Regions from separate parts of the Homo sapiens genome. Here all the other regions are linked to region 3. Evidence: promoter capture Hi-C in 16 types of primary human blood cells and fetal thymus (Javierre and others, 2016). All regions are on one chromosome and are shown on one strand. The core of a region is centred on a gene start or on the middle of the fragment in contact, and the rest is flanking DNA. Distances in the headings are between cores, read along the strand shown. Region 1 overlaps ZBTB4 (zinc finger and BTB domain containing 4). Region 2 overlaps POLR2A (RNA polymerase II subunit A). Region 3 holds the start of TMEM256 (transmembrane protein 256).

Region 1 (3,362 bases), core at 858-3,357, 73 kb after region 3:
GGATTGACCACCTGCCTAGCCAACATGGTGAGACCAGCCTGGCCAACATGGTGAAACTTGGTCTCTACTGAAAATAAAAAATTAGCTGGGCGTAGTGGCGGGCGCCTGTAACCCCAGCTACCCGGGAGGCTGAGGCAGGAGAATCACCTGAACCCGGAAGGCGGAGGTTGCAGTGAGCCAAGATCATGCCATTGCATTCCAGCCTGGGTAACAAGAGAGAAATTCCGTCTCAAAAAAAAATTAAAAGAAACCATAAATAAGTTGACCACTCTGGAGTCCTCACAATTTGCCTCATACTCTTCTTGGGGCCTCACACACATTACCTCATTTAATGATATTCTCAGTACAGCCACCCACAATAGGTTTTATATTATCCTGTTGCCCAGGCTGGAGCGCAGTGGCGTGATCTCGGCTCACTGCAACCTCCGTCTCCTGGGTTCAAGCAATTCTCCTGCCTCAGCCTCCAGAGTAGCTGGGATTCCACGCCCAGCTAGTTTTTTTATTTTTAGTAGAGACAGGGTTTCTCCATGTTGGCCAGGCTGGTCTTGAACTCCTGACCTCAGGTGATCCACCTGCCTTGGCTTCCCAAAGTTCTGGGATTACAGGCATGGGCCACTGCGCCCGGCCATATTATTCTAATTTTACAGAAGAGGAAACCGAGGCTCAGAGAGGGATATACCTTACTCGAGGTCGCACAGCTTGTAAGCAGCAGTCAAGATTCGAATCCAGGCCCAGCTGACCCCAGATGCTCAATCTTTCCCTCTGCCATACTGCTAGACCTGGCCCTGAAGAGGCCTATGGCCCGCCAGCTGGTTACATAAACCACCGCACAAGGTCTCACGTGCTAAGTGCTAAATGTGTCATGTCTGACTCCACCCTTTCCCTCACTTCCACATCCAGCAGTCATCAAGTGTGGCTGAAATCGCCGCCGAGCTTGGGAATGGCTCTGGAAATCTTCCCTTCGATAGCTCAGGTCCTTGTTAACACTCACGTGGTCCAAGGTTATGGCCTCCCAGCTATCCCCTGGCCTCCAGGCTTACCTTCCTCCATCCAGCCCTCCTCCCCCTGAGGGTCAACGTCCCTAACCACAGTTCAGGACTATCACTCCTGGGCTCAAAACCTCCACTGGTCCCCACTGACTCTAGAAGAAAGTTCAAATTCTTCTACCAGGCAGTCAAGGGCTCTGGTCTAGCTCCAATCTTCCTTTTTAATCTTGCCTTGTGTTATCCTCTTCAAACACACAGTACTCAGCGTGAGCCAGGCGTGATGGCAGATACCCATAGTCCCAGCTACTCAGGAGGCTGCAGCTAGAGGATTGCTTGAGCCCAGGAGTTTGAGTCCAGCCTGGGCAATATATTGAGACCCAGTTTCTAAACAAATGAACAAAACCCCAGACACCCAGTGTGCTCTCCAGCTTCTACATGACCCACACCTTCATGCCTTTGCCTGTGCTGGCTTGTTCTGCCAGAAATGCTCTTTCCCCAAGCTTGTCAAAATCCCTCCAAAACGTTAAGATCTGACTCCAAGGCCACCTCCTTCTTGGCCCTCCCTGATCCACAGGATGAGAACGATCATTCCTTCCTCTGACTCATCAACCTTTTGTGCTCCTATGGCCAGCATCCACCTTACACAGCAGCAGAGACTCAGGTTCTCATGCCCTCAGCTGGGGATCCCTGAGCATCCGGGTCTTCTGAAATGGACTGCTGCAAATGCTAAGTTCTGCAGCAACTGGGGAGAAGAGTGTTGGAGGGAGTTGCACAGAAAGGACCATCCACTGAATGTTCCAGAAGGCAGCAGAGTACAGTAGTTAAGAGCACAAGATCTTCAACCTGATTGCCCGGGTTCAAATACAGCTTCACCTCTTACTAGCTAAGTGACTTGGGGCAGATTACTTAACTTCTCTGGACCTCAGCTGCCTCACTTGAAAAAGGGAGGTAGAGTGCCTACTTCAGGGTGTTGTTCTGAGGACAGAGTGGCCACATATAAGTGCCCTGAGGACAGGCTGGTGCACGGTCAGTGCTAAGCAAGTGTGTGCTGCCATTATTATCAGCGAAGCCCCAAGAAGGGAATTCCCAGTCCTGGGGGAGGGCTGACAGGGGCTGGCATAGGCACAGCCCCCAGACTATAGCCACTTTCCGGGTCCGTTTCCCATGTGCTTTTGGAAGATACGCAGGGCAGACAATCAGCCCCATTCTGCAGATGAGGAACTGAGCTTCCTTCAGATCAAGTGCCAGTGAGGGAATGGTAAAGACGCCAGAGCTCCTCAGCCCTGGACCATGGCTCCTTTCTCTTCACCAGACCGTCACTGTGCACCTGTTGAGCAGGCTCCCACGGCAGCCACCCCTTCCCAGCCCCCCATGCCGGAGGGCCTGTCCGCAGCACCCTCCCTTCCCCCACGTACACACATCCTTCCAGTGGGGCCGGGCACAGTAGACAGTGGTGTGCAGGCTTGGAATGCACTTGCACACACACCCCTAGAAGGGCCCAGTCCCCAAAGGTGAGGAAAACCTGTTCTGAGGAATCTGCCTAGTGAGCGAATTCTGTTCTGAGGCCCTTCCACCGTCGCAGGAGTGGGGCCCAGTGTGCGTCAGAGATACCCACAAGGGGGGCAGAGAGAGGGAGAGGGTGAAGCAGGAGGAGGCTGAAAACTTCACGTTTCTTTTTTCCATTTTAGTGACAAGAGTCACACCCAGCCTTTACATAAACATGGCCAAGGAGCCTCTCTGTCTAAGCTTACTTCCCTTGTGGCCGCCCAGCCTCTCCTCCGGGTGACCCTGACACGCTGGGCAGGCTCATGAGGGGCAAACATACAGACCCTGCAAAGATTAGCTGGGCCATCTGACAACACCCATGCCTCCCGCCGGCCTCCATGCGCTACCCTGCATTTATCTCCCGCCTTCCTCATACCAAATCCCCTCCGCAGCCCCACCGCCACTTAAGCACACAGACGGCAGGCACGCACACACAGCCTGCTTGCGGCTGGCCTCTTGGGTCTGAGGCCCACACTGCCCTTGTCACGCCACCTCCCTCCCCACATGTGTTTTCTGACCAGTTTGCCTCCCAGCTCAGCAGCCCAGACAGGCTCCTACAAACAACGTCACAAAAGAATCCTGTGGAGAATGTTGCAAACACACAACCTTCCCCTCGCTTGGCTGCCCATGATCCCATAAACACAACTGGCGCATTCCACCTCGAGCCCCTCACACCAGTGCCAACTGACCCACAGGCCCCTGAGACATACCCCGGGGTTCCTCGCTCCTCTCATGATCTTTGGGATCTGAGTTCTAGACGCGCAGCCCCCATGCAACGCGCTCATCACAGACACGCAAACCCATCCATCGCCCTCTTCACCACTGGACCAC
Region 2 (3,166 bases), core at 440-2,939, 91 kb after region 3:
GGAGTTTTGCAGTGGGAAGAGCATTCCAAGCAGAGAGGCACTAGCATATAGAAAACCCCGGAGGAACGCAGCACGTGTTGCGCTGGATGTGATAGGCGACTCCAGGGAATTGTTACTGAGGAGTGAACAGGAAGGTGTGGAGCATCAGGGAAATGAAGGTTGAGAACATCATAAAATCCTTTTGGGAAGCTGTCCTGCTGAGTTTGGATGTCAGTCTGAGGACAAGAGGGTATGAATGATTACATTTTTAGTTTATTATTAATTTTTATTTTATTTATTTTTAGCACACATTTTTATTTTAGAATGAGCACCCCAGTTGTAATGTAGAAGGATTGGAGAGAGACAGGCTGGTGACCCATAGGAACGCTCTGTTGTAGACTACAAAGGAAGGGCCTGAACTAGGGCAATGGTGGTGGGGATGGAGAAGAGAGGCAAGATTCAAGAAACACTTAGGAGGCCAGGCGTGGTGGCTTATGTGTGTAAACCCAGCTGAGATTCCCGCCACTGCACTCCAGCCTGGGTGACAGAGCAAGACTTCTTAAAAAAAAAAGGGAGGTAAAAGTGACCAGTACCTGGTGAATGACTGAATAATAATAATGTCCATTCATAAAGCGCCAATTACATCCTGGACTTAAGCAAGCTAATTAAGTCCTTAATGGTTACATAGTTCATAAGTAATATAGGCAGAATTCCAAAGCAAGGGTGCCCGACAGCTAAGTCCATGTTCTTTGGACTGTTTTGTGCTTGAAGGTAAGGAAAGGTAAGCATAGGTTTCTGAATCTGGGATAGAGACTAAAGGAAAAAGAGAAGCTTTTGTGGAAAAGAGAGTTTGCTTTTAAACATGTTTAATTTGATTTTTTGGTGTGATGTTTGCAGGGGGTTCAGTAGGTAGTCACATACGTGAACCCAAAGTCCAGAAGAAAAGTAAGGCCTGGAATTAGAGAGTTGAGAATGAGTATCCAAGCATACCTTGGAGATACTGTGAGTTTGGTTCCAGCCCACCGCAATAAAGCAAGTCACATGGAGTTTTTTGGTTGCCATTGTGCATGTTACATTAGTACTATGCTGTAGTCTACTAAGTCTAAGTGTACAATAGCATTACAATTTTTTTTTTTTTTTGAGACGGAGTCTTGCTCTGTCATTCAGGCTGAAGTGCAGTGGTGCGATCTCAGCTCACTGCAACCTCCGCCTCCTGGGTTCAAGTGATTCTCCTGCCTCAGCCTCCCGAGTAGCTGGGATTACAGGTACCCATCACCACACCCAGCTAATTTTTTTGTATTTTTAGTAGAGATGGGGTTTCACTATGTTGGCCAGGCTGGTCTCAAACTCCTGACCTCAGGTGATCCACCCGTCTCAGCCTCCCAAAGTGCAGGGATTACGGGTGTGAGCCACCGCACCCGGCCCATCTACTTCTGAGTTCTTCTGTTTCCTCCTTTCCTTCATTGAAATGTCCCCATCAAGTCCTGGCTCTTCCTTTCTTGGGATTCCAGCTATTCACTTTTGCTTCAAATCATTTCCACCAACCTGTTTTTCTAGCACCTGTTTCTCCAGTCTTTTAATAAAATCTCTGGCCTGGCGCGGTGGCTCACGCCTGTAATCCCAGTACTTTGGGAGGCCGAGGCGGGTGGACCATGAGGTCAAGAGACCATCCTGGCCAACCTGGTGAAACCCTGTCTCTACTAAAAATACAAAAATTAGCTCGATGTGGTGGCGCTCACCTGTAGTCCCAGCTACTTGGGAGGCTGAGGCAGGAGAATCACTTGAACCCGGGAGGCAGAGGTTGCAGTGAGCTGCGATTGCGCCACTGCACTCCAGCCTGGCGACAGAGCGAGACTCCATCTCAAAACAAAACAAAACCAATAATAAAATCTCCATCTGGACACGAAAGGGTTCAAGCAGTTCAGGCCTTGAGAAGGAGGGCATGACAAAGATGAGGGAAAAGAAACAGGGCTGCATCTCTGAGTGCCTCGTTTCTTATCAGGGGCTTGAGTTGGCGGGGCATGTCTTGGTGCAGAACACCTGGGCTGTCATGGCGAGGGTACAGGTACAGAGAGGCTTCTGCCAGGATCTCAGATTCATGAGCTTGATTTCTGCTTGGGAGGAACAAATAAAGCATTGTTTTGTTTTTTTGTTTTTCCTGAAGCAACTTTGATTTCTTTTTGTGGCTAAATCCTATGGATGTCAGAGACCTAGAATTCAACCCAGATGGAAGTCTGGGGTTCATGTCCCAGTAGCAGGTGATTTGTATGGAACCCAGGATCGACCATTATCTAGTGTGAGTGCTTTTCCTGCCTCAGTGACTGGAATAAGCCTCTGACTTGGGATATTCAACTTTGGCCTTTTCAGAAGTGTACACACACCAATCCCCCATTCCCCTCACTCCAGGCTAAACTTAGTTCTTCTGTAAGTAGTTCAGGGTTTTCCCAGACCTTAGTCCAGAGCTCCCCAGCCACAAAGGCTAGAAACTAGGAACGCTGTTCAGTTGTTGGCCTTTCTTTCTTTGCAGAAGCGAATGTCTGTGACGGAGGGTGGCATCAAATACCCAGAGACGACTGAGGGAGGCCGCCCCAAGCTTGGGGGGCTGATGGACCCGAGGCAGGGGGTGATTGAGCGGACTGGCCGCTGCCAAACATGTGCAGGTAAGTGCTGGGGGGCCAGGTGGGATCCCAAAGGGGAGGTGGGTTGGGTCCTCAAAACTAGGGCTGACGGTTGACACCTGGAGGCCTCTGAGATGAGTGGGAGCTGGGAGGAAAGCACTGGGTGTGTGTCCCACAGGAAACATGACAGAGTGTCCTGGCCACTTTGGCCACATTGAACTGGCCAAGCCTGTGTTTCACGTGGGCTTCCTGGTGAAGACAATGAAAGTTTTGCGCTGTGTCTGCTTCTTCTGCTCCAAACTGCTTGTGGACTCTGTGAGTGGGGAACAGGCTCTGGTCTGGGAGCGGGGGTGCTTGGTAGGGGGCAGGGGGACAGCTTCAACTGACCCTGCTCTGCCCTGTCCCCAGAACAACCCAAAGATCAAGGATATCCTGGCTAAGTCCAAGGGACAGCCCAAGAAGCGGCTCACACATGTCTACGACCTTTGCAAGGGCAAAAACATATGCGAGGGTGGGGAGGAGATGGACAACAAGTTCGGTGTGGAACAACCTGAGGGTGACGAGGATCT
Region 3 (3,195 bases), core at 105-2,604:
AATACAGATTCTCAGGCCCGAAAGAGTGCTTCAGTAGGAATCTGTGTTATTTCAAGCATTCTTTATGACTTTGATGCCCACCAGGGTAAGAACATTATAATAAGTTAACTTAAAGTGACCAGAATCCCCAGACCTAAGGCTCACTGATTAAGTCTTAGGAAATGGAGGGAGTTCAGAGGTTGAATCCCCACCCTTCGTCCTCCAAGAGGTTAGATGAACAAAGACTCCAAAGTTTATTTGCCTTTCCTTTTTAATCCTCTTCTTACTCCAACTCTTTAAAAAAAAAACTGCCCAGAAAACCCAGTAATTAAGCAAAAGGGAGCTCAAAGAGCCAAGGCAAGCCAGCCCAAGAGTAGCAGGGTCCCTCCCGCAGGGGCCAAAGTCTGGATGCTGGGGTCTCCACTCAGAGCCTGGTAGTAAAAGCTGGTGCAGAATAAGGTCGTTCCGGAAGCTAGCAATAACCCAGCCTGAAGGAGACACAGCACAGAAAACAGGATTGTTAAGAACAGGGCAGGCTGAGAGGGAGTGTGTGGGGCTTGGTCAGGGTTAGGCGCAGGGAAAGATTACCCAGAGTGGCTTTCTGCAATGGGGCACCCCTAACAGGGCCAGGCTGTGTAAGAAGTGGTGTTTGTTGGCCTTGTCAAACAGCTGTAAGAAAAACAGAAACGAAGGGATGTCGTAGGCAATACAGGTACTGAGATCCCCTGATGACACAAGGGACCAAAGTTCCTTCCCCCACCCCACCCTTGAAGTCCCAGCTTGATCCCAGGCCTTTGGCTTACAGAGCCTTTGGCCTTTGCTGCTCCAGAGATCCGCGGCTCGCCCCACCCTCTCCCCGCCCACTTCCCCCAGGGACCCCAGACTTTGTGCCTTCGTAGACCCACGAGTCAGGGAGCCCCAGCGCAGTTACTTCACCTCCTTCCCGTAGGCATCTGGGAATTGGGCGCCTGTGGAGAAAAGAAGCAAAGGTTAGCGGTCCTAGTGCCAGCCCTGACCGCCCCCAATCCGGGGGGACCCAGGTGGACATTGGCGAGAAAGGGCACCCCCCCCCCCGCCCCAGGAAGCTTCCGATTGGTGGGAACACGCTCGGGCAGTACTGGGAACCAATTGGACCCAGCTGGGGGACTTTAAAAGGTTTAGGGCTCCGCGGACTGTCTGATAAACGAGAGGCCGGGCACCTCCCATAGGTTACGCCCTTGCAGCAGACCCCAGAGGACGCCCCAAGTACAGTCCCATCTTCGTCCCCAGCCCCCTGACCGTGCGCCCCGTAGGAAGCGAAGCCTAAGGCCGCAGCTCCGGACAAGGCGCCCAAGCGGCGGAAAGCTGCAGCTGGCCCGGCCATAGCTGTAGAACAGGACGCACCGGACCAACGCCGCCCAGGCCACCCAAGAGGCCAGCCAATCCCGACCGCCCATGCAAATAAGGTTCACAGGCGCCCAATCCGGGCCGTGTTCATTTCAGCATTGCGCTCTTCACCCGCCTTTGTAAAACCGCTGCAGAGTGGCGAAGACGTCTGGCGGGCGGAGAAACCAGCACCAATTAGGAACAGAGGAGCTAAGCAGTGGGGGGGCGGGGTTGAGGGCGGGACTAGGGGGATTTGCGTCAAGGATTGGCCCACTTTCCAAGTTGATCGCCTCTTCGAACCCCCCACCCCCATGCTCCGGCCAATTTCCAAAGATCCCGGTCTTCTCTCAAAGTTCCGCCCCTTTTTCCACAGGCTCCTCCTGTTCAGCTTCAAATCAAACCCACTACCAAAAAGAGGCGGCCCGAAAGATAGCAAAGCCCCACCTATTGCCAGTAAACCCCGCCCACTGCACAAATGGCCCCTCCCCCATGTCTGAAGGCTCCGCCTTCTTTGTATGATGCCCCGCCCCCTGTAGTTAAGATATTCTCCCCCCCGCCAGCCCTCCGAGACCGCGAGAGCCCCGAGGGTGGGAGATCCGGGGGAATGTCTCCACCCTGCCCTGGCCCGCTACGTCCATCTGTCCGTCTGTCCGCTCCCGCCTCTTCCCACCATCTCCAATCCCCCCATTCTCCGGAGGGCGGGCGGGCAGGCGGGTGCGAGCGGGGGGTGCGAGCGGGGGGTGTGCGCCGCTCTCTCGGCAGGGGGCGGGGGAGGCGGCCGCGCGGTGACGCGCGGGGCTGCTGCGGCTGCTCCGCCGGCGGATCATCACTCTCGGGCTGGGATGGACGCGGGGCGGGCCGGCCCTGGCGCGCGGAGCCAGGAGTCCGGGCCTCCCGGCTGCTGAGCGTCCCTCGAAGCCTCCCCTCACCCCCGCCTTCCCTCCTAGGATCCGCGCTGACCCCCGCCCCGGGGCTCTGGACTCGGCTCCCGCCCTCCTCTGACTCCCCGGACCTCCCCCTCACGCCCGCCCTCGGGATCGACTAGATCCCTCCCCCTCCCCGAGGATTCCGGCTGGATCCCTGCCCCTGCACCGCGGATCCTGCGCTCCCGGGCCCCGGGCCCCTGGGGATTAACGTGGACTCCTCCTCCAGCACCCGATCCTTAGGATCCTCCGCCTGGACCGCCTTCTGGTCCCTCGAAGCCGGCCCACGGAACCAGCGGATCCTCAATCTAGTCCTGTCCCGTTGCCCCCTCCTTTCTCTATCGTCCCTACTGCGGGGTTCCCTGTTCTCGGGCTCCCCCTGATCCCATCCCCTAGCTCTCCTTTTCCCGGGGATCGACTGGATCCCGGCCCCGCCCCCCGGGGCTGGGGCGATCCCCCTCCCCCGCCGGGTGAGGCGCTGCGGGCGGGGGCTGGGCCTGCGGGGCCGCGGGGGCTCAGAGGCCGCCGCCCCCTCCCGAAGGCCTTTCGCCCCCCACTCGGAGCCCTGGATGGAGGCACCACGGCCCCAGGGCTGAGCCAGGTAGGACCTAAGCCGGGTCGGTGGAGGGGGCTGCGTGGCGGTCCACTGGGGTCTCCCTCTCCCCATCTCCCTCCCTGCGCCTGGTTTCCCCCAGCCTGCTCTGTCTGCGTGTCTCCGCCTAGGGATGCTCTCGCCGTGTCTCTGCGTCTTGGTCTCTTTGTCTCTGCCTCTCTCCAGTCCATGAATGATCCTTTGAATGGGCCCACAGACCCCGTGTGTTCCCATCTCCCCCTCCCCCTCCTTCTCCCCTTCCCAGCCAAGCCATTTTCACCACTGCAGGAAGGGGGGGCCTGCGGCCTGAGCCCCCGTCCCTCAACTCTCCCCGGC

What was found. The method cuts DNA at HindIII sites, captures the fragments that hold promoters and counts their contacts. A CHiCAGO score of 5 or more calls a contact.
Region 1: a fragment that was not itself captured here is called in contact with the fragment with the promoter of TMEM256 in region 3 in 1 of 17 cell types (endothelial precursors); the score reaches 6.3 in endothelial precursors.
Region 2: a contact is called between a fragment that was not itself captured here and the fragment with the promoter of TMEM256 in region 3, in 5 of 17 cell types (endothelial precursors, total CD8 T cells, erythroblasts and 2 more). The highest score is 6.2, in endothelial precursors.

What each region holds. Positions count from the first base shown.
Region 1 is chr17:7,475,111-7,478,472 of GRCh38, forward strand. The region is part of intron 1 of ZBTB4 (zinc finger and BTB domain containing 4); the gene reads right to left. Among named protein-coding and RNA genes, the nearest start is that of ZBTB4, 2.8 kb to the right of the region's middle. The HindIII fragment of the contact is 1,246 bases long and covers 1,485-2,730 here.
Region 2 is chr17:7,493,435-7,496,600 of GRCh38, forward strand. POLR2A (RNA polymerase II subunit A) reads left to right here. Exons shown (of 30, transcript NM_000937.5): 2 at 2,507-2,639; 3 at 2,776-2,912; 4 at 3,006-3,166. Among named protein-coding and RNA genes, the nearest start is that of POLR2A, 11 kb to the left of the region's middle. The HindIII fragment of the contact is 1,762 bases long and covers 809-2,570 here.
Region 3 is chr17:7,402,743-7,405,937 of GRCh38, forward strand. TMEM256 (transmembrane protein 256) reads right to left here and starts at 1,355. Exons shown (of 4, transcript NM_152766.5): 1 at 1,258-1,355; 2 at 916-947; 3 at 568-648; 4 at 233-467. The coding sequence starts at 1,342. The coding sequence ends at 324. It overlaps TMEM256-PLSCR3 (TMEM256-PLSCR3 readthrough (NMD candidate)), which reads right to left and starts at 1,389. Exons shown (of 10, transcript NR_037719.1): 1 at 1,258-1,389; 2 at 916-947. It also overlaps a transcript of NLGN2 not described here. RefSeq lists an enhancer at 1,164-1,343 and a silencer at 1,834-2,163. The HindIII fragment of the contact is 6,317 bases long and covers 1,063-3,195 here.